Linked DNA regions of Homo sapiens: all the other regions are linked to region 3. The links are contacts of gene promoters, found by promoter capture Hi-C in human tissues and cell types (Jung and others, 2019). All regions are on one chromosome and are shown on one strand. The core of a region is centred on a gene start or on the middle of the fragment in contact, and the rest is flanking DNA. Distances in the headings are between cores, read along the strand shown.

The links. The method cuts DNA at HindIII sites, captures the fragments that hold promoters and counts their contacts. A contact is called where the count stands out against the background at its distance.
Region 1: a contact is called between a fragment that was not itself captured here and the fragment with the promoter of DHX58 in region 3, in 1 of the 25 tissues and cell types used here (H1 embryonic stem cells).
Region 2: the fragment with the promoter of JUP here is called in contact with the fragment with the promoter of DHX58 in region 3 in 2 of the 25 tissues and cell types used here (lymphoblastoid cells and stomach).
Region 4: a contact is called between a fragment that was not itself captured here and the fragment with the promoter of DHX58 in region 3, in 1 of the 25 tissues and cell types used here (IMR-90 fibroblasts).
Region 5: the fragment with the promoter of NT5C3B here is called in contact with the fragment with the promoter of DHX58 in region 3 in 1 of the 25 tissues and cell types used here (IMR-90 fibroblasts).

Annotation. Positions count from the first base shown.
Region 1 is chr17:41,803,731-41,807,442 of GRCh38, forward strand. It overlaps P3H4 (prolyl 3-hydroxylase family member 4 (inactive)), which reads right to left. Exons shown (of 8, transcript NM_006455.3): 6 at 3,066-3,149. Among named protein-coding and RNA genes, the nearest start is that of P3H4, 6.4 kb to the right of the region's middle. The HindIII fragment of the contact is 7,644 bases long and covers 1-3,712 here.
Region 2 is chr17:41,784,562-41,788,038 of GRCh38, forward strand. JUP (junction plakoglobin) reads right to left here and starts at 2,150. Exons shown (of 14, transcript NM_002230.4): 1 at 2,027-2,150. RefSeq lists silencers at 1,442-1,654, 1,819-2,118. The HindIII fragment of the contact is 40,774 bases long and covers 1-3,477 here.
Region 3 is chr17:42,110,629-42,114,439 of GRCh38, forward strand. DHX58 (DExH-box helicase 58) reads right to left here and starts at 2,086. Exons shown (of 14, transcript NM_024119.3): 1 at 1,977-2,086; 2 at 1,485-1,577; 3 at 1,097-1,265; 4 at 668-869; 5 at 95-285. The coding sequence starts at 1,264. KAT2A (lysine acetyltransferase 2A) reads right to left here. Exons shown (of 18, transcript NM_021078.3): 15 at 3,730-3,766; 16 at 3,591-3,654; 17 at 3,372-3,456; 18 at 2,483-3,214. The coding sequence ends at 3,021. RefSeq lists enhancers at 1,594-1,693, 1,934-2,453. The HindIII fragment of the contact is 12,117 bases long and covers 1-3,811 here.
Region 4 is chr17:41,702,108-41,706,115 of GRCh38, forward strand. No RefSeq gene overlaps it. Among named protein-coding and RNA genes, the nearest start is that of GAST, 8.2 kb to the right of the region's middle. RefSeq lists an enhancer at 2,945-3,737. The HindIII fragment of the contact is 6,214 bases long and covers 1-4,008 here.
Region 5 is chr17:41,834,982-41,838,805 of GRCh38, forward strand. NT5C3B (5'-nucleotidase, cytosolic IIIB) reads right to left here and starts at 1,251. Exons shown (of 9, transcript NM_052935.5): 1 at 1,201-1,251; 2 at 878-976; 3 at 222-291; 4 at 89-135. The coding sequence starts at 1,212. It overlaps KLHL10 (kelch like family member 10), which reads left to right and starts at 2,844. Exons shown (of 5, transcript NM_152467.5): 1 at 2,844-3,145. The coding sequence starts at 2,952. RefSeq lists silencers at 735-844, 975-1,354 and an enhancer at 1,775-1,854. The HindIII fragment of the contact is 24,571 bases long and covers 1-3,824 here.

The sequences.
Region 1 (3,712 bases), core at 666-3,165, 310 kb before region 3:
TTTGCTCATACTGTTTCCCTGCCAGGAACTACTGCTGTCCCCTGTGCCTGCGTAGCCCGCACTAATCCCTCCAAAGCCAGGCATCAGTTCCAGGCTGAGCCCTTGCTGGTGACTCTGGCTGGGCTGGAGACCTCCCCTGGTGCCGTGTGCTGCCCTCTCCAGCAGCAGTTTGTGCTTCCCCCACTAGACTGTGAGCGGCACGTGAAAGGGACCATGACTTCCTTTTTTTTTTTTTTTTTTGAGACGGAGTCTGCTCTGTTGCCCAGGCTGGAGTGCAGTGGCATGATCTCGGCTCACTGCAAGCTCTGCCTCCTGGGTTCACGCCATTCTCCTGCCTCAGCCTCCCCAGCAGCTGGGAATATAGGCGCATGCCGCCACTCCTGGCTAATTTTTTGCATTTTTAGTAGAGACCGGGTTTCACCGTGTTAGCCAGGATGGTCTCAATCTTCTGACCTCGTGATCCGCCCGCCTTGGCCTCCCAAAGTGCTGGGATTACAGGTGTGAGCCACCGTGCCCCGCCAGGACCATGACTTTCACTAACTTACTCCAGCCCCTAGTCTGGTGTCTGGCAAACCACAGGAAATAAGAGACAGCCGTCAAAATGGCTGCCATACGCCAGGCGTGGTGGCTCACACCTGTAATCCCAGCACTTTGGGAGGCTGAGGTCGGTGGATCATTTGAGGTCAGGAGTTCAAGACCAGCCTGGTCAACATGGTGAAACCCCATGTCTCTACTAAAAATACAAAAATTAGCTGGGTATGGTGGCACACGCCTGTAATCCCAGCTACTCAGGAGGCTGAGGCAGGAGAATCGCTTGAACCTGGGAGGCGGAAGTTGCAATGAGCTGAGACTGCACCACTGCACTCCAGCCTGGATGACAGAGTGAGACTCGGCTGTCATTCACTGTGCACCTACCAGGTACTGGCTCTTTATCAAGTGCTTTACATACTTGATCTCAGCCAGGAGCGGTGGCTCACGCCTGTAAACCTAGCACTTTGGGAGGCCGAGGCAAGCGGACCACTTGAGGTCAGGAGTTTGAGACCAGCCTGGCCAACGTGGTGAAACCCTGTCTCTACTACAAATACAAAATAAAATTGGCTGGACATGGTGGCGCATGACTGTAATCCCAGCTACTCGGAGGCTGAGACAGGAGGATCTCTTCAACCCAAGAGGTGGAGGTTGCAGTGAGCAGAGATCGCACCACTGCACTCCAGCCTGGGTGACAGAGTGAGATTCTGTCTCCAAGAAAAAAAAAAGAAAAATGCATACTTGAGGCCGGGTGTGGTGGCTCACACCTGTAATCCCAGCACTCTGGGAGGCCGAGGTGGGTGGATCACAAGGTCAGGAGATCGAGACCATACGGGGTAACATAGTGAAACCCCATCTCTACTAAATATACAAAAAAAATTAGCCGGGCGTGGTGGCAGGCGCCTGTGGTCCCAGCTACTTGGGAGGCTGAGGTAGGAGAATGGCGTGAGAACCTGGGAGGCGGAGCTTGCAGTGAGCTGAGATCACGCCACTGCACTCCAGCATGGGCGACAGAGCGAGACTCTGTCTCAAAAACAAACAAACAAAAAAACATACTTGATCTCACTTAATTCTTTCTCTTTTTTCGAGACAGAGTCTCAATCTGTCACCCAGGCTGGAGTACAGTGGCGCGATCTCGGCTCACTGCAACCTCTGCCTCTGGTTCAAGCCATTCTCCTGCCTCAGCCTCCCCAGTAGCTGGGATTACAGGTGCCCACCACCACACCTGAGTAATTTTTGTATTTTTAATAGAGACAGGGTTTCACTATGTTGGCCAGGCTCGTCTTGAACTCCTGATCTCAGGTGATCCCTCTGCCTCGGCCTCCCAAATTGCTGGGATTACAGGCATGAGCTACCATACCCGGCCAGATCTTGTGTTATTCTCACCACAACAATGTGAGATGGGCATGATTCTCCCCATTCAATGGATGAAGAAACAGAAGCTTGAGAGGTTGCCTGACACTTGTTTGGAGGCCACCCAACTGGTAAGTAATGGAGCCAGGTCTGGCTAGTTCCTCATCCTGGGTGCTGACGGTGTAGATTCTGCCCTCCTCCTCTGGGGTTGGATGGGTGGGGGCGTGGGGGCATGAACAAAGGAGAGGATACATAAATGAGCACTGAGCAGCAACACCTCAGAGAAATTAAGGCTGTCAAACCCTCACTTGAAATCAATGTTAATAGGGCCGGGTGCGGCTGCTCACGCCTGTAATCCCAGCACTTTGGGAGACCGAGGCAGATAGATCATGAGGTCACGAGGTCGAGACCAGCCTGACCAACACGGTGAAACACTGTCTCTACTAAAAATACAAAAATTAGCCAGGCGTGGTGGTGCACGCCTGTAATCCCAGCTACTCCGGAGGCTGAGGCAGGAGCATCGTGTGAACCCGGGAGGCAGAGGTTTCAGTGAGCTGAGATGACACCACTGCACTCCAGCCTGGGCGGCAGAGCGAGACTCCATCTCAAAAAAAAAAAATAAATAAATAAATAAAATAAATCAATGTAATACAATACGGTCCTTCTGTCCTGAGGTCCTGCATTCATTCATTCACTGGTTCATTCAAACTCAGTTTCTGAGCCCAGGCTCTGTGCAGGATGTGGGAGAACAGGGAATAATGTGGCCCTGTGTCCTGCAGTGCGGTTCTCCTGGATACTGGCTGGAGAAGGGGCCCAGGGCTGAGATGGACGAGGGCTGCAATCACCCAGGTCCAGGCCACAGGTGGCCAGGGAGGCACACAGGTCAGAGTGGGCACTGCTAGCCCAGAACAAAGAGCCAGGGCATGCAGCAAGGGCTTCCTGGAGGAGGCACCATGTGAGCTGGGCCTGGGAGGAACAGGATTGAGACATGTACAAAAGGAGGACATGAGAATACTAAGGCTGGGGAAGGAACGGACAGTCTAGACAAGGAACAGGCAAACCTCTCTTCTTCACGACAGCTGACCACCAGGGGCTGGGGCTGAATTCTGGCACACTGGTGGCCCCAGGAAAAGGTCCAAGGTGTCCCCATCACAGCCCAATCCTGGAAAGCAGGAGGCACTCACCTCATCATCTGACTGCAGGTACATGTGGGTGAACTCCAGCAGCTCCCGCAGCTCGGCGGTCTGGTTGTGGTAGAGCATGGCCTCCTGGAAGGAGGGAAGGACGGGGTGGGGGGTGAGCCATACCCTGTTGCCAGATGGCAAGAAGCCAGGGCTCCTAGGATCTGGGCCCACTGGCCCTCTTCTAGCTCAAGGATCAGAGAATAGGTATCAGCTCACAAGCTCATCAGATCATCGTGGCTGCTTGGAACACTGGGTTAAGGATTCTGAGAGTTTGGTGACAAAGAGTCCCTCAATCGATTAGCAATGTCTGCCACTGACAAGGAAGGCAGGAGTGGCACCATGTGCCCCATATTTGCCAGCCTGGCCCTCAACTCCAACAGATTTCCTCCATTGGTTACCTAGGGTGTTCCTGGGAAAGAGGGACAAAGGTCAGCAGTGAGGGTAATGAAGGTAGGGAGGGGAGCAGGTAGGAGTGGATGTGTACCTTCATACCTCCCTCGTCTGGACACTGCTGGTGAGGTGGCAGTATCACTGCCATTTTGCAGGTGAGGCAATAGATTAGGAAAGGGCCATGGTCTTCCCAGGACCACACAGCAGTGGGGCTGGGCTCTGAAGCCAGGACTCTAACCTCAACTCATATTCTTTCT
Region 2 (3,477 bases), core at 900-3,399, 330 kb before region 3:
GAGAAGAGGGAAAGCAGGTTATTTTTGCCCAAACTCCCTGCTCCTGTTGCTCCCCAGAGGTGCAGAATCCCATCCCCCGGCAGAAAAGGATCTGAGTTCCCACACTGACTTCCCCCTAGCACAGGGCTGAGCGTGATCCCCACCCAGGATAAAGGGGCTGAGTCTGGGCCCCCAGCCTCACTCCCCCATCTACAACAAAGAAAGAGGTGGTAGACTCTTCCCCTCCAAGCACTCTCGATCCCCGCCCCCCACAATCTTTCTCCCACCCCCAGGACTGAGAGAGAACCCAACTGTTGTATTCTCTCTCTGTTCCCCAACGAGGCTGGGCTCCAAATCCTGCAAAAAGACCACATTTCAGATTTTTTTTTTAAACCGGGGTACAAACCCTGATCAAGATCCCCAATTCTGGGTGGGGGGGGGCGGTCTCAGGAAATTGGGAGCAGGGAAGGCAGGGGGCCCGATGCAGCTCTGCCTGAGAGAGTCTAGCATTGAAGAAACCTTCCCCCAAAAAGCCTTCCTGCGGTCTCACTTTCCCTGTCAAATTCTTTCAGGAAAGCGGGTGGGAAAGGTCTGTGCAGGCCTCCAGAAAGCATGCACCTTCACAATTCAGAAATCAAATGGAAGGCAAGTCCCACAGCCTCATGCGCTTCTGCCTCAATAACCAGCCAGCTAAGTAATGTGGGGGATGGGGTAGAGGCAAAAAAAAAAAGACAAGAACAACCACTCCCCCCACCTTCCTCAGTTTGGCCCAGCCCTGCCCCACCCCCATTCCTGGGGAGGGGGCAGAGCTTGAGAGACAACCACTTACGCAGGCCTTGTCTGAGGGGGTGTGGTGGTCCCAGGAGGCAGGAAGAGAAGGAAGAAGCTGCTTCCCCTCTCAGCACTTTCCACCCCCCACCCCGGCCCCTACCTCAGGCCCCTGGGGCCCAGCGAACAGGATGAATGTGGGGGCAGGGAAGACAGGGTCGGAGCCCAGGCACCGGCCCAGGTTCAGCCAGGGGCCGGCTGGGGGAAGGGGTTTTGCACCAGGAAGGACCCCCTAAGCCTAAAGGAAGTTTTGGGCAAGGAGACGGGAAAACCCCCAGATAAAGCTGCTGTGAATACTTCCTCCTGCAAAGTTTGTTTTGGGTGATTTTTTCCAACAATAAGAGGTTAGAGAAGACGGGTCCTGTTCCCCTACCAACACTCTGGCAGCCACAGCTACTGGAAACTGGGCCAGGTGACCCTGAATTCTTCATCCGTGCACAGACCCCACCCCCCAGACCCCAGGGCGAGCCACGGGTGCCAGACACCAGCTGGACACTGAGCCGAGCCCTGCACCCCCCAGTCACTCCATCCCACCTCCGCTGAAGAAGCCAGAGCCGGGCTCCCACCGGCGTGGAGGGAGGCGCCGCAGGTAGTATCGACGAGGCTCTGGGAGCTGGAGGGCAGGGCCTCTGGACTCCGTGCGCTCACCTGCTCGGCAGGTGGGGCCAGAGTCGCTGGGAAAATGTGCGCTCGGCCCCCACAGTTGGGCAAGCTGGGCGCAAACAATAGGGCCCCACCCAGGCCTGGGGGAGTAGGGAGGGAGGGAAAGCGAGGATGACGCGTGGGGTGGGGTGAGGGTGGCCCCAAAGAGACCAGCGGCAGCAAGTTCCCCAAACGGTAAATTCCTGACTGCAGCGTGAGCCCTGGGACGCAGTCGAAGCAGAGCAAAGTCTCCCCCGCCAGCCCAGGGCGAGAGTCAGGGACGCGGCGTCGGGCGAGCTGCGCGGGCCCCGGGGGAGGCGCGACCCCGGAGGCACCTGTCCGGATCCCTCCCCGCCTTGCTCAGATCTCTGGTTCGCGGAGCTCCGAGGCGCGCTCGGCCCGAACCGCGCGACCCCCAAGTCGCCGCGCCCAGGACCCCAGCGCGCCCCCTGCCGCCGGTGCAGGGTGGCGCTCGATGGCACCGGCCCTCACCTGCCCAGGGACGGCTGGGACCGGCCCCGCGGCCGCTCGCCACCCCTCTGTCCCCAACGATACCTGCGCCCCCGATAGCCCGCACCTGAGTATGGGGCCTGACCGGGCCGGGTCGGGGTCGGGCCGGGGTGGGAGCCGGCGCGGACAGCGAACTGAGCTCGGCGTGGTCGGGCGGCGGCTGCTCCGGACTCTGGCCAAGGCAGCAACTCAGTAACCGAACAAAAGGCGAAGAGACCTGACAGCCAAGCCACGCCCCTCGCCACCTCGAAGCTCCGCCCCTGGGGGAGACGCCCACCCTCTGGTGCGAGCTCACTGGCTATCTCGCCTGACTGTCCCGTGGAGGGGCGGAGCCTCGCCTCCAGTCCTCTTCCACGGCCGCCTCTGTTTATCCGCTTGCCATTGGCCCCGGGGACTGCCAGTCGGCTCTAGGGATGGACTCTAACTTGAGGTCTCATCCTAACATTGCATCTATTGGCAGATAGAAAGTTACTTCCTCCTGATTGGACAAGGCTCTGTCAGTAAGACTAAGGAAAAAACCAATGGAAGGGATGGGGTGTGTCTTGCCCCACCCTTGCTCTGAGCAGGTGAGACTCATTACTCTCCCCTTCCCCCTACCTGTCCAACAGGTAAGTCATAGGGATACCAAGGGAAGGGACAGACGCCTTCACCGGCCAGCCAACTCAGCGTCAGGCATGATGCTTCTTTGGGCTTATTCATCCTTGCCCCAAAGTAGTAATCACATATTTGTATAGCATTTCATAGGCTTTGTGCTGGGGTGGGATTTTTTTCCCGAAAGATGGAGTACTCCTGGGATTTAGAATTAGAAGGCCAGGTTTGGTCTTCTCCCACTTGGTATGATTTTAGGCAAGTTACTTCACCCTGTTTCTCCTCTTCTGTAAACTGGATACATTAGCCATATCTACCTCACTGGAGTATGTGGGGATTAAATGAGGTCAGGTTTGTGAAAGCACTCAGAAACTGCTAAAGGTTAGAAATTTAAATTAACGGTATGTTTTTTTTTAATTATTGTGACAGCTCTGAAAAATAGTTAGGATGAGAAAACGACCCTCATTGTAAAGATGAAGAAACCGAAGTTCAGAGAAGTCACAAAACTACAAAGTGGCACACCCCAAGCTAGAACCTCCTTCCTCTCATTTGAAGGACCATCAAACCAGCTGTTCCCCTCATGGAAGAGGAGCATAGACATAAAATGTCAAGGCAATGGGGAAGGGGCAGAGAAAAGGCACAAACACTTGGAGGAGAGACAGAACAATTAATTGGCACAAAAATACAGTATTGGTGTCAGGAGGCTTTGGTGGGCTTGGAAACATCAAGCAGCAGATCTGAAGGAAATCCAGCCCTGGCATGAAAGAAACGGGGCAGGCCAGGCGCAGTGGCTCACTCCTGTAATCTCAGCATTTTGGGAGGCAAAGGCGGGTGGATCACCTGAGGTCGGGAGTTCAACACCAGCCTGGCCAATATGGTGAAGCCCCATCTCTACAAAAAATACAAAAAGTTAGCCGAGCGTGGTGGCGG
Region 3 (3,811 bases), core at 836-3,335:
GGCTGGTGGGGACGGGGTAGTGGCAGGGCAGGCAGGGAGGGAGGGAAGTCCCTGGTGGGTCTGGCAGTGGGAGGCCCACAGGGGCCAGGCTGACCTGCAGGACGTGGTTGATGGCCCCATCGAGTTTGGAGGCCCCGCCAGTGCCTGGGGAGGCTGTGAGACCCAGCACCTGGGGTAGCGGCTGTGCCCTCTGGAGTTTAAGTTCTAGGTACTGGCTCATGATGACGTTGTAGACGGTGTCCTTGTGCGTGTGGTGGCACTCATCCACCACGATCAGGGAGAAGACTGAGGGCACAGGGGGGAAGGCTGTGACCTATGTTTGCAAAGCCCTTCCTCCCATCAGCTTTCAAGTAGTCCCCACAATGATGTAAGAATTCCTTCTTCCCTTCACAACCTGCAGCTGGTCCCAGGATGAGGAGCCAGGCAGGGAAGACTTCTTTCCATTTCACAGATTAGTAAACCGAGGCTCAGCTGGGGAAGGGACTGGCCTAAGATCCTACACGATAGCCCGGCCTGTTTCTACTAGAGTGCCTGCAGGGGTTTTGTGAACAGGCAACCCCTCACTCCCACTAAAACTCCCAACACCTTGACTCCAGGAGGTGCCCTGGGGTTGGCGAAAGGAGGTACCCCAGATGCGTATCTTTTTCCTCCCGGCCATGGCCCTCACCAGTGAGCTCCACGTGCTCCTCCTCCTCGGGGCTGGTCAGTGCCATCTGCAGAAGCTCTGCTGTGCAGATGAGCAGGTCATGGCACCGGGCCAGGTGGCCAAAGCCAGCACGTGGTCCCATGTCCCCACTCAGGGTTGTCACGGTCCAGCGTCCATCCAGCATGCGCCTGAACTCTTCACCATGCTGGGTCACCAGGTGCACCTGGGGGTGGAGAATGAGCTGGGAAAAGAGAGCTGAATCTGGGGCCAGGGGTAGGGAGGCGGTAAGGTGACCCGCAGGACATGGCTGGGTACTGAGCCAGGGTGGAAAGACAGGTGAGCTTAGCGATGGCCACAGCAGCTTTGGAGTTCTGGTGGGGACTGGGAGATGCCTGAAGAGCTAAGACCCTGCTTGGTGGTGGGAGAGCGGGGTAGGGACAGACCACTCACCCTGTTGACCAATACAACCACCTTGGCTCCATCCACAGTCTCTAGGTGCCGCTTGGCCACATAAGCAGCCGCCCGGGTCTTCCCGGCACCCGTGGGCAGCCAGATGATGATATTCTTGCCCTCCAGGGCAGGCATGATCACCTCCCATTGGTAGGACCGAAGCTCCATTCTGGGAATGGCAGGGGACTCAGACCCACCGACTCCTCCACCCCTCCCAACTCCTGGCCAGACCAGTCAGTACAGAGACCTCCCTTTGCCCAGGACTCCACCCCACTTGAGGGAGGTGGGGCAGGACTCCCTCAGAACCCATCAGGACCCTGCTCTGCCCAAAAGGGGGAGGCGGGAGTAACACAGGCTACACCTGCCCCCTGCCCAGCCCAGGACTCACCTGCTCTAGTAGGTAGGTCTGCCCAGGGCAGTCCCACTTAACTCAGCCTGGTGCCACTCTGCTCAGCTCAGAGACCCAAGATGGAAACTGAAACTGAGGGAAGGAGCCAGCTGAGCCGACTTAGGAATCTCCCATCCCCGCCCCAGGAAAAAGAACCAAGAGAAAAGAACCGTTTGTGCTAACAGTCATCGCCAACTGCCGTGAGTACAAACTCCGGTTAAGTACTGCTGCTGCGCCAGCGCCCTGGCAGGCATGATCACCTCCCATTGGTAGGGCCACAGCTCCATTCTGGGAATGGCAGGGGACTCAGACCCACTGGGCCCTCCACTCATCCCAACTCCTGGCCAGAGCAGTCGGTACAGAGACCTCCCTTTGCCCAGGACTCCACCCCACTTGAGGGAGGTGGGGGGGGGGACACCCTCAAAACTCATCAGAAGCCTGCTGTGGCCAAAAGGTGGGGGTGGGGGGGGGTGGGAGTAACACAGGCTACACCTGCGCCTTGCCCAGCCTGGGTCTCGCCTGCACCACCACGTAGGCCTGCCCAAGGCGGCCCTGCTTAGCTCAGCCTGGTGCCGCTGTGCTCAGCGCAGAGAGCAGAAATCAGAAATGGAAACTGAAACTGAGGGGAGGAGCCAGCTGAGCCGACTTACGAATCTCCTATCCCTGCCCCAAGAAAAAGAACCACGTGTGCTAACAGGGAAGCACTCTTTCAGTGCTACAGGATCCTCTACGCTCTGGCCCTTCTGCAGTCAGTTGTAACCACATCCACCCAGGTTAAGGTGAAGGCAGGAGGTTCTGACCCCTGCTGCCCTGGCATCTGGATCAGGAGCAGCCTGGAGGAGGGAGAGGTGGGGGGCTGCAGGCAGGTAGGACCCATCACCCCAGGAGCACAGGACCAGGCCTGAGGCTTGCTGGGGAGAGCAGCCTCCAGTTTGCAAGAGGTCCCTGGGGGCCAAGGTGAGCCTGCTAAGGCTGGGACTACACCAAAGAAACAATCACACAGAGAAATAAAAAGCTTTATTATTCCCTCTAAGGGATTAATGCCAGGGAATGAATGGTCCCCATACCCCCCACCCCTGGGGGAGACTGACAGAACAGTGCTGGACAAGGCATGGCCCCCTTCAGTTTGGGCTGAACTTCCAACCCCTGAAGCCATCACTCAAGCTAAAATGAGCAGTTCTGGTCCTCAGGGAAACAGCCACCTGGGCCAGGCCCAGGAATCCAAGCCTCCAAAGCTCTTGGGGACCAGGCCTGGGGGCCACCACGGCTGGGCAAGGTTCATCCCTGGCCACCAGCTACTCTAGAGGGGCTGGGCCCCAACCCAGGAGACCTCTCACACACAGTGAAGGCTGGGACAGAGCTGCACGCTTGGGGGTGCCTGAAGGTCCAGAAAGAGCTGCAGGATCGGGTCCGGAGGACCCTTGGCTGGAGTGTCTCAAGCTGAGTCGGGTCCGTGGGGCCAGGGCACCCCCTAAGGATCAGATCAGAATCCGAGGTGGAGACATTCCAGGTCAGGGCTGCGGCCCAAAGATGGGCCTACTTGTCAATGAGGCCTCCCTCCTTGAGCTTGAAGTAGAAGAACTTCTCCAGGGCGCTGGCACAGCGGCAGTACTCGCTGTCCGGGGGGTTGTACTCGCGACAGTTGGCGATGACCCGCTGCAGGTCGGCCACAAAGAGCTTCCGGGTCACGTAGTAGCGGCTTCGCAGCCGCTCAGTCATGGTCTTCAGGTCTGGGGCAGCAGGAGACGGAGCACAGCTTTAAGAGGCTGAAGACCACGGCAGGGCTGTCCACCAGGGTGGGCCCCCTGGGGCTGCAGGGCGCAGTGAGGGCAGGAGCAGGTGTGGGGACAGAAGAGGAGGGAAGGGGATGGAATGGAAGGTCCTCACCAATGGGGAAGCGGATGACCTCGTAGTAGTCAGGGGCCTCCGACTTCTTCACAGGCTCCATGAAGGGCCAGGCACTGGGGTGAGACTGGAGAGAAGAGCCGGGCTGGGGACAGCCCTGCTGCGCCCACGCCAGCCCGAGACCACTACCCACCCCACACTGCATCAAGAGGCCACAGCCATTGGTGCAGGGGCCCTGGAAAGGAAACCTGGTCTCCCCACCTTGATTTGGGCCAGCAGGTTTTTGAGGGTTGTGTAGAGCTGGTCGGGGTCCTTCAGCTCCTTCCTGGGGCGAGAGACACCAAGTCTGAGGCTCCAAGTCCCTCTGCCCCACCCCCAACCCGGCTCCTTTGACACTCACCCCTTCTCCTTCCCCAATGGCTTCCAGCCTGTCTCTCCTGCAAAGTGGGAAGTGGGAGAATGTCTCTAAGAATGCCAGTCCA
Region 4 (4,008 bases), core at 1,075-3,574, 410 kb before region 3:
CTTAGCAACTCTATCATTTTTTTCTGTTTTTCTCAATCATTAATCTCCGATTTTATTATTTTTCTTTCTTCCTTATTTTCCTTGATTTTGTGGCTCTTTTTCTAACTTCTTGAGTTTAAAGATTCACACATTTATTTTAGTTCCTTTGTTTAATAATGAATGTTTTGTTTTATTTTGTTTGAGATAGGCCCTGGAGTGCACCAGACCCTATCACCCAGGCTGGAGTGCACTAGTGCAATCTGATCATAGCTCACTGCAGCCTCCAACTCCCGGGCTCAAGCAATCCTCTCGCCTCAGCCTCCCAAGTAGCTGGGACTTCAGGTTCACATTGCCACACCTGGCTTTTTTTTTAAGTAGAGACAGGGTCTCGCTATGTTGCCCAGGCTGGTCTCAGACTCCTGGGCTCAAGTGATCCTCTTACCTCAGCCTCCCAAAGTGCTGGGATTATTGCCGTGATCCACCATTACCGGCCATGAATACTTTTTAATGCTCTAAATTAGATTTGGTCCAGGCGCGGTGGTTCACATCTGTAATCCCAGCACTTTGGGAGGCCAAGGCGGGCAGATTGCTTAAACCTAGGAGTTCGGGACCAGCCCAGGCAACATGGCAAAATCCTGTCTCTACTAAAAAAAAAAAAAAAAAAATTAGCCAGTGCGGTGGTGTGTGCCTGCAATCCCAGCTGCTCAGGAGACTAACAGGGGAGAATCACTTGAGCCCAGGAAGCCAAGATTGCGCCACTGGACACCAGCCTGGGCAACGGGAGTGAGAGAGAGCCTGTCTCTAAATTAATAAATAAGATTTGGCACCATTTCTTTGTTTTGTTTTGTTTTGTTTTGTTTTGTTTGAGATAGTCTCACTCTTGTCACCCAGGCCAGAGTGCAATGGCGCAATCTCAACTCACTGCAACTTCCACCGCCCAGGTTCAAGCAATTATTCTGCCTCAGCCTCCCGAGTAGCTGGGCTTACAGGCACGCGACACCATATTCAGCTAATTTTTTGTATTATTAGTAGAGACGGGGTTTCACCATGCTGGCCAGGCTGAGGCAGAAGAATCACTTGAACCCGGGAGGCGGAGGTTGCAGTGAGCCAAGATCGTACCACTGCACTCTAGCCGGGGCAACAGAGTGAGACGCTGTCTCGAAAAAAAATAAAATAAAATAAAAAATAAATAAAAATATAAAAATTAGCCGGGTGTGGTGGTGAGCACCTGTAATCCTAGCTACGCGAGAGGCTGAGGCAGGAGAATCGCTTGAACCCTGGAGGCGGAGGTTGCAGTGAGCCGAGATCGCGCCATTGCACTCCAGCCTGGGCAACAAAAGCGAAACTCTGTCTCAAAAAAAAAAAAAAAAAAGGCCGGGTGCAGTGGCTCACACTTGTAATGCCAGCACTTTGGGAGGCCGAGGCGAGTGGATTGCCTGAGGTCAAGAGTTCGAGACCAGCCTGGCCAACATAGTGAAACCCCGTCTCTACTAAAAATACAAAAAATTTGCTGGGCGTGGTGGCAGGCACCTGTAATCCCAGCTACTTGGGAGGCTGAGGCAGAAGAATCACTTGAACCCAGGAAGCGGAGGTTGCAGTAAGCTGAGATCCTGCCATTGCACTCCAGCCTGGGCAACAGAGCGAGACTCTGTCTCAAAAAAAAAAAAGAATGAAGTTCTGATGTATACTACAACATGAATGAATCACAAATGCATCATGCTAAGTAAAATAACCCATACACAAAAGGCCGTATATTGTATGATTCCAATTAAATGAAAGTCTCAGAATAGGCAAATTCTTGGAGACAGAAAGTAGATTTGTGGTTTCCAGGGAAAAGGGGGAATGAGGAATGACTGCAAATGGGTGTGGGGTGATGAAAGTGTTCTGAATTAGATAATGGTGATAGTTGCACAAATGTGTGAACTAAAAGCCACTGAAGCTGGGCTTGGTGGCTTGCATCTCCAGTCCTAGCTACTTGGGAGGCTTAGGTGGGAGGATCATTGAGCCCAGAAGTTAGAGAATAGCCTGTGCAACACAGCAAAAAACCTGTCTTTGGCTGGGCACAGTGGCTCAAGTCTGTAATCCCAGCACTTTGGGAGCCCAATGCAGGAGGATCACCTGAATTCAAGACCGGCCTAGGCAATATAAGAAGACCCCAGCCAGGCGCAGTGACTCACGCCAGTAATCCCAGCACTTTGGGAGGCCGAGGCGGGCAGATCACTTGAGGTCAGAAGTTCGAGACCAGCCTGACCAACACGGTGAAACCCCATCTCTACTAAAAATACAAAAAATTAGCCAGATGTGGTGATGGGCGCCTGTAATACCAGCTACTTGGGAGGCTGAGGCAGGAGAATCACTTGAACTCGGGAGGTGGAGGTTGCAGTGAGCTGAGTTCATACCACTGCACTCCAGCCTGGGTGACAGAAGAAGACTCCGTCTCAAAAAAAAAAGAAAAAGAAAAAGAACTTGTCTCAAAAAGAAAGTAAATAATATAAAAGCCACTGAAGTGTATACTTTCAAAGGGCAAAAGGTATGGTATATAAACAATATCTAAATAAATGGCTTTTTTTTTTTTTTTTGGAGACAGTCTCACTCTGTTGCCCAGGCTGGAGTGCAGTGGTCTGATCTCGGCTCACTGCAACCTCTACCCCCTGGATTCAGGCAATTCTCCTGCCTCATCCTCCTGAGTAGCTGGATTACAGGCATGCGCTACCACTCCCAGCTAATTTTTGTATTTTTATTGGAGACGGGGGTTTCACCATGTTGGCCATGCTGGTCTCGAACTCCTGTTCTCAAGTGATCTGCCTGCCTCAGCCTCCCAAAGTGCTGGGATTACAGACATGAGCCACTGCGCCTGGCTAAATGGCTTATTTAAAAAAAAAAAAAAAAAAAAAAAAAGAATTGCATCATTTCCAAAGCTGGCTGGGTGGGCACATTATGAGCAGGGGTGTTGCCCTTGCCACATGGCAGCATCTCTCTGGCTCGTGGACAGAAATGACCTCTGCCGTCTGCCAGGGATCATTTGGAATCAGGTGGGTTTATATATGCAGCAAAACTTCAGTAAAGCTTGAAGAAACGCACTGATCCTTCTACCTTCTCTGAAATAACGTTCTCAATAGCGAGGTCATAGGCATAACCAGCCATCCAAACCTCCCCCATGGCCCCTTGAGCCCACCATGTGTCACTCCAACCCACCCCACTCCTGGGCTCAATAGACAACAAAGAAAAGGGAAGAGAAAGAACAAAGACCCCCCTCGATCACCATTGTGTCCCCAGGGTCAGAACAGTGCCTGACACAAAGCAGGCACTTGGAAAATTTGTGTTGAGTAAACAGATGCATGGATGAATGAGTGAATGAAAGAGTGAAAGCACACGGTCTCTAAGCAGGCAGGAGGGTCTGGGATGATGGGCCCTGGTGGAGGGGCTGACACTGAATGGGGTGACAGAACCTCCAGCGATGGAGGAAAGGAGGAAAGGACGGAAGCGGGACTTAGGCAGCTGTGTTCACGGTGGGGAAAAGGGGGCTGACGTCAAATGACCTTGGGAATGAAAGAGAAATGATTCACCACAGTTGCCAGTAACAACCAAGCTGCAGAATATTAATTTGCAATTGAATCAACTGGTCACTTTCGGAAACTTCCTGTCGGTTTTTGCAGGGAGTGGCAGGAGCTGAGGAAGGGGTCGGGGTGGCCTGTCAGGGACCTGGGACCAGCCTGGCAGGTTCAGAAGCAGGACAGGGGCAGCAATCTATGTGCATCACACAGAACTGAGATGACAAACCCTGGGAGGGGTAGGCGGGCTGGGAGGAGCCAGACAGTGGAGGAGCTGGAGGTCACAGTGAAGACAGATTCAGCAGGAGCGAGGCTTCTGGAGAGGGTGGGATGGGAAGCTGTGGGCCGAGAAGAGGCAGCAGCACATGGAGTCCAAGACCCGGGGGTTCCCCAACTCAGCTCCCTCACCTCCTACCTGTTGGGCCGGGGATGAGCCATTCAGCCTGGAACACACCCGAATAAAGACTCCTCTCATCCT
Region 5 (3,824 bases), core at 1-2,500, 280 kb before region 3:
CTCTATACTGGAATCTTTGGTTCCAATCAGGAACCATTTGAAGTAGCAAATGACAACCATTTCTGAGCAAAGGACGGGAGCAACCCACCTCTTTCCGACACTCCTCACTGATGATCTTGCTATTATCCAGAATATCTGGAAAAAGAGAAAACTCCTTTTACTTGTCCCTTAGAACCCATCGTCTTGTCAAGCTCAACAAGGGAAGCTAGAATGTGACTTACTGTAAGAAGAAGGGCATCGCTTTCCATTATATGCAAACCTGCTCAAGGTCATGTCAAAATCAGAAATCACCTATAAGGCAAAAGAGAGATGATGCCTAAATAGGCACCAGAATTCTAGTGTGGCCCTGCCTCAGCCTGGGGGATGATTATGGAAATCAATACAGCTCAGTGGCCAGGATGTAGGCAAAGCCCTAGGGGAGTTACCGAGTGACACAGAGGGATAGAGGGGAAGTGATCCTAATTAGTACCCGTTAACCCTGAGGAAAACGCAGTCTCCTAGTGTGGGGGCAAGGGTGAATACTCAGGACCCCTCTGACTCCTTCAATATCAGGTCCCTCCTAAGAGATCTCTACCATTACGGCCCATCTGGACATCTTCAACTTACTGGGGAGCCGCTGGCTTGGGGAGGATAAGGCCCTAGGTACTGGTGTGGGCGCCTTCTGTCCAATTAGAGGAAGCAGCATGACCATATTGAGAAATCTGAAATTTGGGTTTTAGGACAGGCGAACCAACCCGCTCTCCTTCAAGCTCCCGGCCATTTCTTGGGGCAGAGAGCTAGGAGGGGTCCGCGGCAGAGCAAAGCGGGAAGGCCCAATGGGCAGGAAGCCTCTCCAGCCGCCCCCAGCCCGGCCGGCCCCCGCACGCCCCAGAGGTACCTGTAACCGGTCTCCGCCGCCCTTGCGGAGGGCGCCCACGATCTCCTGCACCCGCCCAGGCTGCCGCATCAGGACCGTGGCCTTCATCAGGGTGCTCACCTGTCCCGAGACCCGAGAGAACCACTGACCCCTGCGCCACGCTGGGCCCGAGGGGAGCCCGGGGCTCGCTCGGGCGCGCGTGTGAGGCGGGGCCGGGGTGCGCGAGGGGGCGGCTACTGGCCTGGGTGAAGCGGCGGTGCCTCGGTGACCAGCTGGGGGGCTCGAAGCGCCCCGGGGGTCGGAGTCCGGGCCCGCCCCACTCCGGACGCTTCCTCCCTCCTCACCTCCTCTGCCATCCCGTTCGAGGCCTGGTCGGCGGCTCGCGGGACAACGACAGCCCCGCGACCGCACTGCGCAGGCGTCGCCTCCCGCCTGGAGCCCGGGCGGGGGTTGGTGGGGCCGGGGGCGGGGCGGGGGTGGGGCCGAGAATCGAGCGGTCCCGGAGATGGCCGCGATCCGGGTGGGCTTGCCGGTTGCGCTAGGCAAACTGGAGGAGGGTTCTATTTATTATGAAGAGCAGGGTGAAGGTCCCAAGGTGTTGGGGTTACGTGGGTAGGTAGGGTTCTGCCACTCTTTGTGGAGGAAAAGCCTTGCCAAACGTGGTCATTTCCAGGCTGAAAGTTTGTGACAAAAACATGACTGGGGCTGGGCGCGGTGGCCCATACCTGTAATCCCAGGACTTTGGGAGGCCGAGGCAGGATGATCGCTTGAGCCGAAGAGTTCGAGACCAGCCTGGGCAATATGACGAAACCCTGTCTCTACAAAAAATACAAAAATTAGCCGGGCATGGTGACACGCACCTGTTGTAGTCCCAGCTACTCGGGAGGCTGAGGCACGAGGATCACTTGAGCCCGGGAGATCCAGGCTCCAGTAGGCCGAGATCATACCACTGCACTCCACCCTGGGTGACAGATGACACCCTGTCTCAGAAACAAAAACAGAAAAACCACACGGCTGGATGGGAGGAGAGATGAAGGAGCCATAAACTGAATTCTGTTAATCACCCAGAAAGGGCTCTGTTAACTAGGCCATTCCTCATTCCAGAAGAAACTGAGTGACTAACCCATCCAGCGGGCTGGGAGACCCGGGACAGCTTTCTGAAATGTAATCAGCGTTGGCTGGGCACGGTGCGGAGCACTTGTAATCCCAGCTATTCAGGAGGCTGAGGTGGGAGGATCACTTAAGCCCAGGAGGTCGAGGCTGTAGTGAGTTATGATCACACCACTGCACTCCAGCCTGGGTGAGAGAGCGAGACCCGTCCCTAGAAAAAGAAAGATTTTTTTTTTGAGATGGAGTCTCACTCTGTCGCCAGGCTGGAGTGCAGTGGAGCGATCTCGGCTCACTACAACCTCCATCTCCTGGGTTGAAGCGATTCTCCTGCCTCAGCCTCCCAAGTAGCTGGGACTACAGGCATGTGCCACCACGCCCAGCTAATTTTTGTATTTTTAGTAGAGACGAGGTTTCACCATGTTGGCCAGGATGGCCTTGATCTCTTGACCTTGTGATCCATCCACCTCGTGCTGGGATTACAGGTGTGAGCCACTGCGCCCGGCCTAAGAAAGAAATTTAATCAGTTTTACTTCTCCCTTCAGCCTCAATTGACTTGGATTTCCTTGAGTTCGGTGTCTAGGGAGCCAAGTGTTGGGCTGTGGAAGGTAGATGAATGCTCCAGGGATAGAGACCTGTATCAGGTGAGTAACAGGAGCTGGAATCAATAAACACTCAGATGGTGCTAGTGGTCATGGTTCTGTTTTGGGTTCAAGGACACAGAAGGAGGTGTGAGGTGGTTTTCAGCCTAAGTGGGGTGGTAAGGAGGGGAGAAGGAAGAGGACAAGTCCAGGAGGCAGTTCCAGAACCTGAGAGCACAATCCTGTGTGATCTCACTGCAGGGCCAGGATTCTGGAACTTGGGTTGCCTGATAGACCCTATACAAAAGATGTAGTAGGGAAAAGGAGCGACAGCTGGCTAAAGGGGCCCCCCACAACCCTCCCCGACACCCTAGGAAAGCAGCCTCTCTCCGCTGTCCCAGGGTGCCATGGAGATGGAGAGCGCGGCGGCCTCCACACGTTTCCACCAGCCTCACATGGAGAGGAAGATGAGTGCGATGGCCTGTGAGATCTTCAACGAGCTTAGACTAGAGGGCAAGCTCTGCGACGTGGTCATCAAGGTCAATGGCTTTGAGTTCAGTGCCCATAAGAACATCCTCTGTAGCTGCAGTTCCTACTTTAGGTATAACAGGGTTGCCAAATTCAGCCAAAGGGGTAATTGGGCTCATTTTGAGACACTTTGATCCATTTTCTGTTTCCCACCCCATCACCTTAACTTTAGGGACACTGTCAAAGCTCTGGGCTCCTTAAAAATTAAAAAAAAATTTTTTTTTTAGAGATAAGCTCTCATTCTTTCACCCAGGCTGGAGTGTAGTGATGCAATCATAGCTCACTGCAGCCTTCAACTGCTGGGCTCAAACAATCCACCTACTCCAGCCTCCCAAGTAGCTAGGTCTACAGGCACATGCTGCTACGTCCGGCTACTTTTGAAATGTTCTGTAGAGAGGGAGTCTCGCTATGTTGCCCAGGCTGGTCTTGAACTCCTGGCCCAAAGCGATCCTCCTGCCTCAGTCTCCCAAAGTGCTGGGATTACCACTGTGCCTGGCCAACTCTGGTCCAGGCAGGAGCTCCTGCCTGGCTCCTTTGCCTTCTGAAGAGGCATGACTAGGGTCAGGGCCTTTTTTCTCTCTTTTTTTTTTTTGTTTGTTTTGTTTTTTTTTTTCCTTTTGCTCTTGAGAGATCTGATTTTTGTCTTTTTTTTTTGAGATGAGTCTCATTCTGTTACCCAGGCTGGAGTGCAATGGCGCCATCTCGGCTCACTGCAAACTCCGCCTCCCCAGTTCAATCCATTCTCCCACCTC